3 separate regions of the Homo sapiens genome follow, and regions 1 and 2 are each linked to region 3. Evidence: promoter capture Hi-C in human tissues and cell types (Jung and others, 2019). All regions are on one chromosome and are shown on one strand. The core of a region is centred on a gene start or on the middle of the fragment in contact, and the rest is flanking DNA. Distances in the headings are between cores, read along the strand shown. Region 1 has its middle 30 kb from the start of NUMBL. Region 2 holds the start of NUMBL (NUMB like endocytic adaptor protein). Region 3 holds the start of CYP2A13 (cytochrome P450 family 2 subfamily A member 13).

Evidence for each region. Contacts are between HindIII fragments. The study calls those that stand out against the background at their distance.
Region 1: a fragment that was not itself captured here is called in contact with the fragment with the promoter of CYP2A13 in region 3 in 3 of the 25 tissues and cell types used here (aorta, dorsolateral prefrontal cortex and spleen).
Region 2: the fragment with the promoter of NUMBL here is called in contact with the fragment with the promoter of CYP2A13 in region 3 in 1 of the 25 tissues and cell types used here (heart left ventricle).

What each region holds. Positions count from the first base shown.
Region 1 is chr19:40,658,089-40,662,685 of GRCh38, reverse strand. No RefSeq gene overlaps it. Among named protein-coding and RNA genes, the nearest start is that of NUMBL, 30 kb to the left of the region's middle. The HindIII fragment of the contact is 4,666 bases long and covers 1-4,310 here.
Region 2 is chr19:40,688,108-40,692,983 of GRCh38, reverse strand. It overlaps NUMBL (NUMB like endocytic adaptor protein), which reads left to right and starts at 2,333. Exons shown (of 10, transcript NM_004756.5): 1 at 2,333-2,524. The coding sequence starts at 2,501. COQ8B (coenzyme Q8B) reads left to right here. Exons shown (of 15, transcript NM_024876.4): 14 at 1-33; 15 at 611-1,454. The coding sequence ends at 949. RefSeq lists silencers at 1,641-1,880, 2,201-2,540 and enhancers at 1,227-2,164, 3,380-3,429, 3,103-4,042. The HindIII fragment of the contact is 7,396 bases long and covers 1-4,876 here.
Region 3 is chr19:41,086,225-41,090,958 of GRCh38, reverse strand. CYP2A13 (cytochrome P450 family 2 subfamily A member 13) reads right to left here and starts at 2,508. Exons shown (of 9, transcript NM_000766.5): 1 at 2,308-2,508; 2 at 1,868-2,030; 3 at 763-912; 4 at 395-555. The coding sequence starts at 2,487. The HindIII fragment of the contact is 9,937 bases long and covers 1-4,734 here.

The DNA.
Region 1 (4,597 bases), core at 728-3,227, 430 kb after region 3:
CTGTAGTCCCAGCTACCCGGGAGGCTGAGGCAGGAGAATCGCTTGAACCCGGTAGGTGGAGGTTGTAGTGAGCCGAAATCGAGCCACTGCACTCCAGTGATAGAGGGAGACTCGGTCTCAAAAAAAAAAAAATTGCTGTCGCATTCATGAACATTATACTTCAGGCCCTGGCTCAGCCATTCACCCCTCTGGGAAGTCCTCCCTGACTGGTCGGGCGCCTCCTTTGGGCTCCTATGGTTCCTTATGCTCCTCAACTGGGCCTGTACCTCCCCGCCCTGGCCCGGATCCGTCTGCCTGTACATCTCCCATCTGGACCTCGACCCCTTTGCCCTCTGCCTGCACCTCACCAGTCCCCGCCCCGACCCCTCTGCCTGTGCCCCCCATTCCAGCCCAACCTCTCTGCCCGGGCTTCCCCCATCCTGGCCTCCCACCCCTCTGCCTGTCCCCTCCCCACCATCCCGCCGTGATGGCTCTAGGCTGTCACTGTCTATAATGGGTCGGCGTCCCCGCCCTGCACAGAAAACCTCATGAGGGCAGGGAAGAGAGCTGTCTTGATAACTACTGAGTCCTCAGTATTACCAAGGTAACATTTATTTCCTCCCTCAACACTGGTTTTGTTTTAACAGCTTTACTGAGGTATAATCTACCTGTCATAAAATTCACCTATTATAAGTGATTTACTGATTTTGGGTGATTTTACAGTTCTGCAGCCATCACAGCCAATTCAAGAACATTTCCATCACTCTGAAAAGATCCCTTCTGCCCATTTGCAGTCGCTCCCTATTCCCTGTCCCAGCCCCAGGCAACCACTGGTCTACTTTCTGTCCCATACATATTCTCTTCTTCATTTTACAAGCATTTTCTGAATATTTATTTTTATCAGCTATTGAGGGCTGAGGGTACACAATGAAACTCACAGGCCCTGCCTTCAGGGAACTCAGAGTCTGGTTATTGTAATAGCTGATGGGAAAATATGTCCATGCACTAATTTCTTCATTCATTCAAAAAACATTTATTGGCCAGGCACTGTGGCTTGTGCCTGTAATCCCAGCACTTTGGGAGGCTGATTGGGGAGGGTCACTTGAGGCCAGGAGTTCAAGACCAGCCTGGAAAATATAGTGAGACCCCCCCCCCCACCCCGATCTCTACAAAAAAATTTTTTTTTTTAATTATCAAGGTGTGGTGGTGCACACCTATAGTCCCAGTAACAGGAAGCTGAGGTGGGAGGATTGCTTGAGCCCAGGAGGTCGAGGCTGCAGTGAGCCATGATTGTGCCACTGCACTCCAGCCTGGGTGACAGAACAAGACCATCTCTACAGAAAAAAAAAAAAAAAAAAAAAAGAGAGAAAAAGAAGGGTCTTCCAAAAATTCATGGAAAATGTGTATTATGAAAAAACTATGCATGGAGTTCAATTTTTTTTTTTTGCACCAAAATAAATTCATACTAACTTGTTATAACTTGTCTGAACAGGACCTAGTTTGAGACACTAAAATAAAACATCAGATTGAAAAGAGCCCCTATCAGAGCAACACGAATTCTAAAATTGAAGCAAGAACAAGCATCAAATTGATGGTGAAGCTTGGGTGGAAGAATGATGAAATCATTGATGTTTTCCAAAAACTTGACAGTGCCCCAGAGAAATCAGCCATTTACAAATGGATAACTCGTTTTAAGAAGGGACAAGTTCGGGCGTGGTGGTTCACGCCTGTAATCCCAATACTTTGGGAGGCTGAGGCCAGCGGATCATTGGAGCTCAGGAATTCGAGACCAGCCTGGGTAACATGGTGAAACCCCATCCGTACAAAAAATACATAAATTAGCTGGGTGTGGTGGTGCACACTTGTAGTTCCAGCTACTCAGGAGGCTGAGGTGGGAGGATCACTTGAGTCTGGGAGGTAGAGGTTGCAGTGAGCCGTGATTGCGCCACTGCACTCCAGCCTGGGTCATGCTGAAGATGAAGCCCACCGTGGCATACCATCCACATCAATTTTTGCAGAAAAAAATTAAATTTGTTTATGCCTTAATTAAAGAGGACTTACAGTTAACAGCAGAAACAATAGCCAACACCATAGACATCTCAATTGGTACAGCTTACACAATTCTTTTTTCTTTTTTTTTTTTTTTTTTTTTGAGACAGGGTTCTCATACTGTCGCCCAGGCTGAGTACAGTGGTGAGATTGTGGCTCACTGCAGCCTCAACCTCCTGGGCTCAAGCGATCCTTCCACCTCAGCCTCCGAAGTAGTTGGAACTACAGGTGCGTGCCAGCACGTTCAGCTAAGTGTCACACGCGTCCCTGTGAAGAGACCACCAAACAGGCTTTGTGTGAGCAACAAGGCTGTTTATTTCACCTGGGTGCAGGCAGGCTGAGTCCAAAAAGAGAGTCAGCAAAGGGTGGTGGGATTATGATTAATTCTTATAGGTTTTGGGATAGGCGGTGGAGTTTGGAGCAATGTTTTGCGGGCAGGGGGCGGATCTCACAAAGTTCATTCTCAAGGATGGGAAGAATTACAAAGAAACTTCTTAAGGGTGGGGGAGATTACAAAGTACATTGATCATTAGGGTGGGGCAGAAACAAATCACAATGGTGGAATGTCATCAGTTAAGGCTATTTTCACTTCTTTTGTGGCTCTTCAGTTGCTTCAGGCCACCTGGATGTATACGTGCAGGTCACAGGCGATATGATGGCTTAGCTTGGGCTCAGAGGCCTGACACTAAATTTTCGTATTTTTTGTAGAGATGGGGGTCTCATTAGGTTTCCCAGGCTGGTCTTGAACTCCTGGACACAAGTGATCCTCCTGCCTCATTCTCCCGAACTGCTGGGATTACAGGCTTGAGCCACCTCACCCGGCCTCAGCTTACACAATTCTGACTGAAATTAAAGCTAAACAAACTTTCCACTCGATGGGTGCCAGAACGGTCGCACCCAGATCAGCTGCAGAGAAGAGCAGAGCTTTCCATGGACATGCTAAACAAGTGAGATCGAGATCCTAATGCATTTCCTTGAAGGATTGTAACGGGAAATGATACATGGTTTCACGGGTGCAATCCTAAAGACAAATCGTAATCAGAGAATGATTGCCAAGAGCGGGGAAGTGATCCAGTCAAGGCAGAAGCACACTGGTCAAGAGCAAAGGTCATAGCAACAGTTTTTGGGGATGCTCAAGGCATTTTGCTGGTTGACTTTCTGTAGGGTCAAAGAATAATAAGATCTGCTTATTATGAGAGTGTTTTGAGAAAGTTAGCCGAAGCTTTAGTAGAAATAAGCCTGGGAAGCTTCACCAGAGAGTTCTTCTCCAGCATGTCTACGCTTCTGCTCATTCTCCTCATCAAACGAGCAATTTTACAAGTTTTGATGGGAAATTATTAGGCATCCACTTGGCAGTCCCAATTTGGCTCCTTCTGACTTTTTGTTTCCTAATCTTAAAATCTTTGAAGGGCACCCATTTTTCTTCAGTTAAGAATGTAAAAAGACTGGGCTGGGCGGAGTGGCTCACGCCTGTAATCTTAGCATTTTGGGAGGCCAAGGAGGGTGGATCACCTGAGGTTGGGAGTTCAAGACCAGCCTGACCAACATGGCAAAACCCTGTCTCTACTAAAAAAAAAAATACAAAAATTAGCCAGGTGTGGTGGCTCATGACTGTAATCCCAGCTAGTCGGGAGGCTGAGGCAGGAGAATCACTTGAACCCAGGAGGTGGAGGTTGCAGTGAGCCGAGATCATGCCACTGCACTCCAGCCTGGGCAACAAGAACAAAAAAAAAAGGCCTGGCACAGTGGCTCACAACTGTAATGCTAGCACTTTGGGAGGCCGAGGCGGGCAGATCACCTGAAGTTAGGAGTTTGAGACCAGCCCGGCCAACTTGGCAAAACCTCGTCTCTACTAAAAAAAAAAAAATTAGCCAGATGTGGTGGTACATGCCTGTAGTCCCAGCTACTCAGGAGGCTGAGGCAGGAGAATGGCTTGAACCCGGGAGGCAGAGGTTGCAGTGAGCCGAGATCATACCACTGCACTCCAGCCTGAGCAACAGAGTGAGATTCCATCAAAAAAAAAAAGAAAGAGAAAATGTAAAAAGGCTGCACTGACATGATTAAATTCCTGGGACCCTCAGTTATTTAGGGATAGACTAAATGGCTGGTATAATGGTTTACAAAAGTGTCTTGACTTTGACCTTGATGGAGTTTATGGTGAGAAATAAAGATTTTTTTAAAATTTTTATCTCTTAATTCCATTCTCCATCAACTTTTTGAATTCCCCTCATAACACAATAGCAATTTGTAGCTCATACCTATAAGCTTAGATAGCATACAGTAGCTCATACCTATAAGCTTAAGTAGACATTTACATAACTTTTAGATATCTATAGTACGTAGATAGCTACAGATCAATGTAGATGTCGAAAGAGAAAGAGCGAGACCAGGCCAGGTGGTTCACGCCTGTAACCCCACTGCTTTGGAAGACTGAAGCAAGGGGATCGCCTGAGGCTGGAGGTTCCAGACCAGCCTAGACAACATAGCAAGAACTCATGTCTACAAAAAAATTCTTTTCATTAGCTAGGTATAGTGGCACACACCTGTAGTCTGGGCTACTCGGGAGGCT
Region 2 (4,876 bases), core at 1,084-3,583, 400 kb after region 3:
GACCTCAAATTCCTCACAGGCTTTGAAACCAAGGTGGGGAGACACTGGGGGAGAAAGGGGCTGGTGTCTGTTGGTGGGGTGCAGTGGGGGGCTGCTTATCTCCACTGAGGAACTCGAGTAGGTGATGGGGCATGTCGATACCCGGGGACTGGGGGACTCTAGGAGGGGCTTGTCTCCACTAGGGAGAATGGAGGCTGTGTGTCTATACCTGGGGAGTGGGTGACTCTAGGAGGGATGCTTATCCATGCTGGGGGCTTTGGGGAGGAGTGGGGGGAGGTGGCTGCCTGACTTCTCAGGAACCCTGGGAACATGGGCACCGTGGATCTGTTCAGGAGGGGCGAAGGCCGCTTCTCTGTTGTAGAGAGAGTAGAGGGCTACTTGTCTGTTGGAGGCTCTGCAGGGAAGTAAGGGGTGCTTACTCGGGGAATAGGCAGCTGCTTGTCTAGTCCAGGCTCTGGAAGGAGTGGAAGCTGCTCACTCTTGGGGGAGTCGGGGCTTGTGTTGATGGTGGAGACTGGAGGGAGTGGAGGCTACACGTTGTTTCTGGGTTATGCAGAGGGCTCTATGTCCACACTGGCTGCCTTTGCTCTCCCCCCACCCCCACTCCCAGGCATTCTCCGACGCCCACGTGGAGGCAGTGATGATCCTGGGGGAGCCTTTCGCCACCCAGGGCCCTTATGACTTTGGGTCGGGGGAAACGGCCCGCCGCATACAGGACCTCATCCCGGTGCTGCTGCGGCACCGGCTGTGTCCCCCACCCGAGGAGACCTATGCCCTGCACCGCAAGCTGGCAGGGGCTTTCCTGGCCTGTGCCCACCTCCGAGCCCACATCGCCTGCAGGGACCTCTTCCAGGACACCTACCACCGCTACTGGGCCAGTCGCCAGCCAGACGCAGCCACTGCCGGCAGCCTCCCCACCAAAGGGGACTCCTGGGTGGATCCCTCATGACAGCCTCCATGGGGGATTCAGTCCCCAGAGCAGGCCGTACCCTGCTGTAGTGCCTCTTATCCCTTCCCCGTCTGCCCTGGGTCAGAGGAGCCCCCTTGGGCTTCCCAGTCTTGCCTGGCTCTCCTCCTTGGCCCAGGAGCTCAGGATCCCTGGGGCTGGGGAACTCCCAACTTCGTGCCCTAGATCCTGCACCTCCCCACTCGAAAGTGGGTATCCGAAAACTAAGCCAGGGAAGCGGTTAACTTATCTTTGCCAACATTTGAGGGAGCCTTGGGCCGCTGCATGTCGTTATGCAGATCAGACTCATCAGGGGGAGCCCTCACCTCTGCCTCAAGCCTCCCGTGGAAGGCGAGATGGTCCTGGAGGCAGTCCTCACCTCTGCCTCCCTCGCTCCTCCAACAGCTGCCTTCTCCCGGGTTCCAGCCTCTCAGTGTGTTGGAGAGGTAGGGGTGCGGGGTGGGGGGGAGCTGAATCTTCAATCGGAATAAAAGCAGCCCTCCCCTTCCCCCAGCTCTTTTCTCTGCGCTAGGGTTGGGGGGAGAGGGGGAGGAGCTCGCCAGCGGCCTCCAGGTGCAGATGGCCAGCCCCCCTGCACCCCCTTGTCTGAAAGCCTCAGCCCTGCCTGTGCCATCTGTTGCCGGGAACCTCCTTCTCGCCTTCCCCACCCCCCCCCACGTGCTGACCACCTGCTCTAAGGGCTGTGGCAGCTGAGGCCTCCCACACACACAGTGCCTCTTGGCTGCGGGCTCCCTCCCCTCACTCCTGGCAACCTCGCCTTTACTAATGGGCTCTAATGTCCCTGCCAGCTGCTTTGCCAAACCCACAGGATTGGCGTAGGGGGCGGCGGGGGCGCCGTAGCGGCCAGAACCGCGCCCTGGTCCCACCCCGGCGCCCCCGTTCCCAAAGCCGAACCGATCGCGCATCAGGACGCCTTGGTCTGTTCACACCCCCTCCCCTTCCTTGCAAAAAGTGCCTCGTCACCGCTCCTGCCCGCCCCCGCCGGGCTGGGGAACCATGGGGTTAGCGGGAAGATTTGGGGGTGTGGGGCGGCAAGGCGCCTCTAGAAGCAACTCTTTCGGACGCGGAGCTGGAGGGGATCTGAGGTCAGGTGTCACGGAGGGAAAGGGAGCCCAGGCCAGGACGGACCGGGGGAAAGGACTCGGCGATGTTCATAGGCATGCTCAGCTCGGGACTGGCCAATGGGCGTGGCGGGGCGGTGGCCGCGCCGGGGAAGGCGGGATGGTGTCTGCGTGTGGGCGGGGTCTTCAGGCCAAGGGGCGGGGCGGGGCGGGACCTTTCTGCATATACGGCAGGCGGCGGGCCAATGGGCGGGGTCGGGGCGGGGAGCCGAGGCCGAGGGACGCTCCCCCGCCCCCGGAACGGAATCCTCCCGGGAGCCGAGGAGGCTCGCGCGCGTGCATCCCGCACCATCCCCCGGCCCCGGGCCCTGGCCGGCGTCAGACCGAGCTGCCGCCGCCACCACCGCAGCAGCAGCAGTCGGGGAGCCAGGCCCAGCCAGGGCCGCGGGAGGCGGGGGCGCCCGGGCCCTGGATGTCCCGCAGCGCGGCGGCCAGCGTGAGAAGGGCGGGAGAGGGGGGCTCGGGTCGGGGGCGGCGCCGCTGCTGATGTGGCGGAGGGTGGGAGGCGGCCGCGGCGCCCGGATGGAGAGAGGGTGCCAAGGCTGGAGAGGGTGGTCCCGGGTGGGGGTCCAGGAACAGGCCCAACAAGCCAAAGCCCAGGAGACCGGGGTCTTGGGCACAGACCCCTGGGCCATCTCTTGCCAAGGCCCTGGAAATAGGGATCCTGGACACAGACCCCCCACAAAACCAAGGACAGGGGTACAGAGATTCTAGGTACAACTCCTAGAACTAGATGGGGATGGAGATGGGGTCGGGGACACAGCCCCCGTATCAAACCAAGGCCTCCAGGACGCGATTCCAGACACAATCCCTACCTCTCCCTGCCTAAGGGGGTCTCAGCACAACAACTGCCTAGGTACGGTCTCGAGGATGGGGTCACTGGGTACAGCGTTCCCACCACGCCAAGGCCTAGGGGGACTCCAAGCACAGCCTGCCCCCAGGTCTCAGAGGCACCCTGGGCACAGCATCCCCCCAATCCTTGGGCGGAGTCCCAGGCACAGCCACTTCTCAAAACAAGGTCCCTGTGCCTGGGACTCCACCCCACCCCAGCCTGAATAAAATAAGGACAATTTCAGGCAACCCCCAATCCCTCCACCCCCTGGCTTGGTCATGGGTCCCAGGGCACAGGATCCCTAGGCCACCCCCTTTGTCCCCAGGGCTGCCCAGCTGTCCAAGAGTGGCCCCACCCGCAGACAATGCACCGCTTCCCCCTCCTGGACCTGGCCCTCAGGCTCCAGGATACAGGCTGGGCTGGGGGCGGCTCCCCAGGGACCGGGTGCAGCCCTGTCTGTCTGCAGTGTCTGCGGTGACGGTGACGGCGGCTTTGTGTGTGGTACCTGGGGGGAAGGGGGGAAGCAAGCGATGGGGAGGTGGCTAGGAGTGTGCCCTGTGTTTGTGTGACTGTGGCTGTGTATGTGTGTGTGTGTGTGCACGCGTACGCTGCAGCTGGTGACTGAGGAATCCTGTGTCGTGTGTGTGTGCTTGTGGTGGTGTCTATGATTGTGTCTGTGACCCTAGTATCTGTGTGACTGTGTATGTGTGTGTGACAGCTGCTCACTGTGCAGAATCCTGTACTTTTTAGTCTGTCTGTGTTTGGAGGTGTGCATGGTTGTGACTGTGGTTGTCTGTGATTGTGTCTTTTGTGACCCTGTGTTTGTATGCCTCGGTAACTATAACTGGGTATGTGACAGTATGTGTTGAGTCTGGGGGTGGGCATGCGTGTGACTGACAGGACGTGGGTGGAGTTGTGACTGTGTGTGAGTGGAGTTGTCTATGGCTCCATGTGCATGTGTGACCCTCCCAGTGACTGACAATGTTTATAGTTGTGTCTCTACCTGATTTTATATACGTGAGTGACACACACCTGTCTGTGCAACTCTGCCTGTGTGACTGCCATTGTGTCTGAAGTCACATTGTATCTGTGTGACTGGGGTTGTGTGACAGTATTGTGTATGACAGTGGTTGCGTATGCAGAACCATGTCTGAGTGTGTGACTGAGGTTGTATTAATATAAATGACTGTATCTAGCAGTGTGTGTGATAACGAGTGATTGTGTGTATTTCTAGCCTTGCATGTGTGATTTGGGTTATGTATTTGACTTGGTGTCTGAAACCCTGGCTATTTAGAGGGATTATTTGTGTGTGACTAAAGCTGTGGATGTGTCTCCGTGCTGGTGCCAGGAAATTATGTTTGTAGGGGTGTGTATATGATTATGGCTTCCATATTATTGTGTTTGACCTGCATGTCTGACCCTGGGTGACTATAGATGTCTGTGTCTATGTCATCATCTGTGAGAGTGTGGGGTCTGTAGCTGTGTGCCTGTTTTTGTCTCTGTGTGTATGTGCTGGACTACCTGTGTTAGAATGTGTGATTTGGTGATGAGATTGGCCCCTGACTGTGCACATGGCTCCGTCAGGACCTGTGTCTTCTGTGTAAACCCAGCTATAAATGCCACATCCTGGTCACTGCATTTATGTGCATACACTGGACTGTGTACTTGTGACATGGGAAACTAAAACTGTGTGCTTATGTCTCTATGTGTGAGATATGTGTGTAGGTGGGGCTTGTGACTTTGTGCACCTGTCCACACGGGGCTGTGATTCTATATGGCCACATACTTGTCTGTGTGACTTGTGTGCCTGCATGAAGAAAGGCTATATGTTTCGCTGCATTGGAGTGACATGGTACAGCTGTGTATGGACACTGGGTGACGGGATTATGACCATGATAGGTGGCTGGGTCACATGGACATTGATGCTGTGGCCATGCCTATAGGACCACCATGGCT
Region 3 (4,734 bases), core at 1,259-3,758:
CCAGGTGTTCAGGTATGCAGGAGGCGGGTTGACGCAGTCACTTGTCCAGGTGTTAAAATATTCAGAAGAACTGGGTAGGGAGCACCTGTTACAAATTACGGTAAGTTGGGGATGGGAACATGTGCCCAGGTGAGAGAGCTGAGCTGAGGGTATGCATCCTGCCAGCAGGCTCTGTTTTGGGGATCATCTGTTGAGCTATCCAGGTGTCCTTGGAGACTGGGTATTGGGCATCCCTCCTGGGTTCTGGTGCAACCGTCCAGTTGTCCAATATCGGGGACTGATTTTGAGGGGACACTGTCTGGAGGGGGGTGGGAGTTTGGGGCACCTGTCTCCAGGTAGGGGAGCAGTTGGCAGGTTGTGGTAGGGGCGTCACTGGCGGGCTGCAGCCAGTTACCTGCCCCGTGGAGGTTGCCGTGAACTGGAAGCTTCCCAGCATCATGCGCAACAGTGACAGGAACTCTTTGTCCTCATAGTCAAAGCGGTCCCCAAAGACAATGGAGCTGATGACATTGGAGACTGTGCGGCTCAGGAAGAAGGTGGGATCGATATTGGCGCCTGCAGGTGTGGCGGGAGAAGGGGGTTGGGGAGAGAGTCAACTCAGAGGTCTGAGGAGAGTCAGAATTCCAGGAGGCAGGGCCCTGTTGAGCCGAATCCCAGCGCCAGACTCCAGGGCTGGAAGTGCGGGCCCCTTTCCCCACCTAGTCCCCATCCCCAGGCAGAAAGCGCGGGTTCCCGCCCTCGCACTCGGGGTCCCCTACTCACCGTGCGTGCCCCGGAGGGCGTCGATGAGGAAGCCCGCCTCCTCCTGGATGCGTTCCTCGATGCCGCGCTTGCCCACGCCAAAACCCCTTAGGGTGGCGATGGAGAAGCGCCGGAGCTGCTTGGCGCGCTCCCCGTTGCTGAACGCCACGCCTGGGGAGGTGAACGCGGGGGTGGAGAGAGGTCAGGGGGCGGCGGGAGCAGGAGCGGACCAGCTCCAAGGGGCTCCCCAAGGGTGGAGCAGAGAGGGAGTGGGGTGGGAGAGAGATGGATTCAGCGCGAGTGCCCAGGAGAGCTGCAAACTCAGTCAGAGAAACACGAGAGCACGAGAGAGAGAGAGAGAGAGAGAGAGAGAGAGAGAGAGAGAGAGAGAGAGAGAGAGAGAGAGAGAGAGACCGGGTAGAAAGAATAAGAGAATCAGAAGAGAAGCAGAAAGGCCAGACAGACAGATGCAGAGAAACAGAGGGATACGGGGATACTCCATGGAGGAAGGGAAGGAAGTGGGGAGAGAAAGAGAGAGATGGAGGGAGGGGAAGTGAGATATGGGGAGATCTGGGAGGAGGAAATAAAAATGGTGAAAGATTCTTAAGCTGAACTGGAGAAGAGAGAAAAATATGGAGACAGAAACAGAGAGGATCGGGAAGGAGGACAGACAATTACCAGGAGTTGGAGGCTGGAGATGTGGAAGTAGGAATACCCTGAAATCCTAAGACAGAGGAAGAAGTGGGAGAGGGAAGCAGAGAGAGGAGAAACACGGAGAAGCACAGAAGCCGAGAGCGACAAAAAGACAAATGAAGACAGAGGACCAGGGCTGGAAAACAGAAACCCAGGATGTCCTCAGAGATGGAGAGAGAGGGGAAAGAGGAGACTCCAGTGAGAGAGAAGGAGGAGACGGGGCAGAGAGAGGCAGGGAGGAATCACGACAGGGACGCTGGAGACAGGTGAGGGACGCACAGGGAGAGGCCACGATGAAGGGAGATGGGGAGAGAAGACCAGACAGGGGGCTCTGCCATAGCCTCCAGTGGGCAGGAGAGTCAGGGAGAAGGCTGGGGACACGGAGACCATTGCATCCACCTGGCCACCTTCCCCCTCTTGGGCACCCCCTCACCATAGCCTTTGAAGAGCCAGTCGAAGGTGGCCTGCTCGCCTCGCCCGCTGAACTCCTCAGCCTGGTCCACCAGAGCCTCCTTGACGGCATCATGTCCGCACAGCACCACGACCCGCCGGGGCCCCAAGTGAATGGTGAACACAGGGCCATAGCGCTCACTGATCTGTTGGAGGCAGGTGGGAGTGGTTAGAGGGAGCAGCCCCCACTCTGAATGGGCCCAGCACTGAGATATCATGTACTGGGATGCTTCGCCCCCAGGTTCTCACAGTCAGGGAGCTGGACATCCCAAGATCCTGTCTTTCCTGCTAGGACCCTGATGCTGAAACTCCAAGACTCCCTTTCCTAAGACTCTGGTCCACACTGGTCAATCCCCTGCCACAAAGCCCCAGCCAACTGGGCAGCCCCCACCCCGTGCCACCCATCTCCCTGCCTTAGGACACCTTCATGAGGGAGTTGTACATCTGCTCTGTGTTCAGCTGCAGGTAGTTTCCAATGAAGGGCAATGGGGTGGGTCCCGGAGGCAGCTTCCCCCTGCTCTTCCTCTGCCGCCAGACTGACATCAAGACCATCACAGTCAGGCAGGCCAGCAAGGTCACCAGAAGCAGCCCTGAGGCCAGCATGGTGGCAGTGGGATGATAGATGGTGATGGCTGGGGTGGTTTGCCTTTATACTGCCTGAAAAAGAGGGATGGACTTTGGTTGATTATATAATCACCTCATTTCACCTCCCAACTACACCCCAACCCTGAATCCCACACAGCTTAGGACACAGCCAGCAAGGGAGGAGGAGAGGGACCCCAGGGAAGCTGAACAGGGAGGGGAACTCCAGACTAAATCTGGTACTTCAGGAGGGTTGCTGCAGGGCTGTGGATTTAGGAGCGGGCAACAGATAAACTGTGGAACTGAGGAGTTTGGAATATTTGCACAGGGGAGCACCTGGACTTTGGATTTGGGATCTGGGAGTGAGAATGCACCCCAAAGTTGTGGATTTGGGCATTCCACGGGAGAGGAATCCAAAGGTCTGGGTTTTACTAGGGTGAGATGGAAGTGTGGCTGTGCATCTGGGGGTCTTCTGTTGTGGAGGATGCAGGGTTAAGGGTCTCAGGACGGGGGATTCCAGGCATATGGACTTGAAAGTCTTGGGGCTAGGAAGACCCAGGGCTGTGGGTGTGGAGTTTCTGGGAGGTGGAGTGTGTAGCAAGCCCAGCAGGTGCTCCCAGAAAGCCCAGCAGCCCAGCACTGGGCCCAGGGACTGACTTGATTTTGCTTTGACCCAGAGCTGTCTCTTGATGCCCAGAATCCTCATTGGAACCTCAGAGTGAGGCCAGGATGGGTGCCATAGAACCTCCGCTGCCCATCTCTGGCTGGGAAAGGGGCAGAAGACGAGAGCCATATTTCAGAGGAACTTTCCCCACACGTGGAGAAGAGTACCTCATGTTACCAGTTGGCAGAGGGGATTGGCTAGGTCTGGAGAAATAGTAATAACAACCCTCAAATGCTGGAAAAATCTCAAGTGTCCCAAGGGTTGTAATTTACGAAGAACTCCACTGGTTTCCAACCCAGATTCTTAGGGAAACCCACTAGATTGATTGTATCATCCCTATTAATACTATGATTGTTATTTATGTTTCTCATTTTATATAAAGATCTACAGAGGACAGAAAACAGACAGTGGGCAGGGGACATGTGTGAGTGGCCCTGAACTCCCATCTCTCTTGCTCTGCGTCTTTAGTTCCACTTTCTGGATTTGGTTTTCCTGCCAGTGGAAAGGGAGTGTTTGGGAAGAGAAGACCACGTTTGAGGGTGAGTTAAGTCTCCTTTAAGGGCGATTCCTGCTTTGTCAGGGGCTACTACTATTAGTAGGCAGAGGGAACAATCGCAGAAGAGATTGGGGTAAACTCCAGTATTAGGCACAGAGGCAGATCCTGGGGTGGGTGTGAGTGGAGAAGGGATGAGTAGCCCTCCTGTCCTTCCCTCAAGGAAATTCTTCCTTAGTAAACAGGACAGTTACCCTTTGGTGAGCATGGTCATATATGGGAAGATTAAGTCTAGGTGTGTATGATCTGGTTGAATCTTTGTAACAGTGAGGTTGGTTCATCATGATCATCCTCATTTTGAAGATGAGCAGATCTAGACTCCATAAATCCTCTTGAGTGAGGTCACACAGGGAGTAAGTGAGGGAGCTGGGATGTGAACTTTCTCCTCGCCCCCCTTCATTGACTGGCCTAGATCACCCTGGGAGTCAAGTGCAGGCCAGGCTTAGCAGGAGGTGAGTGCTGGGACTGGCATCAGCAGTGGACACACTGATGACATTGGCGGGTTCTGATATCAGCATCAGGTGTGTCCAGGGAGGGAAAGGCATCGTGTTGGCTTTGGGACTGCCCCCAGGTGTATGCGAGGATGGGAAACAAGTTGGCACTGAACTTGACACCAGGAGAATATTGAAGTCATGTTTGGTGCCAAGAGGGCTCTGTGTGTTGTCTCAGGTGTCATTGAGGGCATAAGAGAGTCCTGCTTCAGGAGGGCATAAGAGTGGCACCATATAGGGTCTGAGGTTGGTCCCAGTGGGCTCTGACATGAGCATGAGGCAGGTGTTGATATTGGTCCTATGTGGGTCTGAGATGAGCCTCAGCCAGACCCTGAGAGGGGCTCCAGATGGGCACAGGACAGGCTCTGATGTTTGGACCTTCCACTGTTGCACCTCTCCTCTGGGTCACCAACTGTGGACAAGTGGAGGTGGGTGAGGTTGGCCCCCCCAGGACTGACATCTTGCTCAAAGTGTTCTAGGATGCTGAGCTCTGAGACCTGTGTGGAGGGAACAAAGATCAGAGAACAAAGGGGACAGAGGAAAGTTGTTTGTTGATTTTG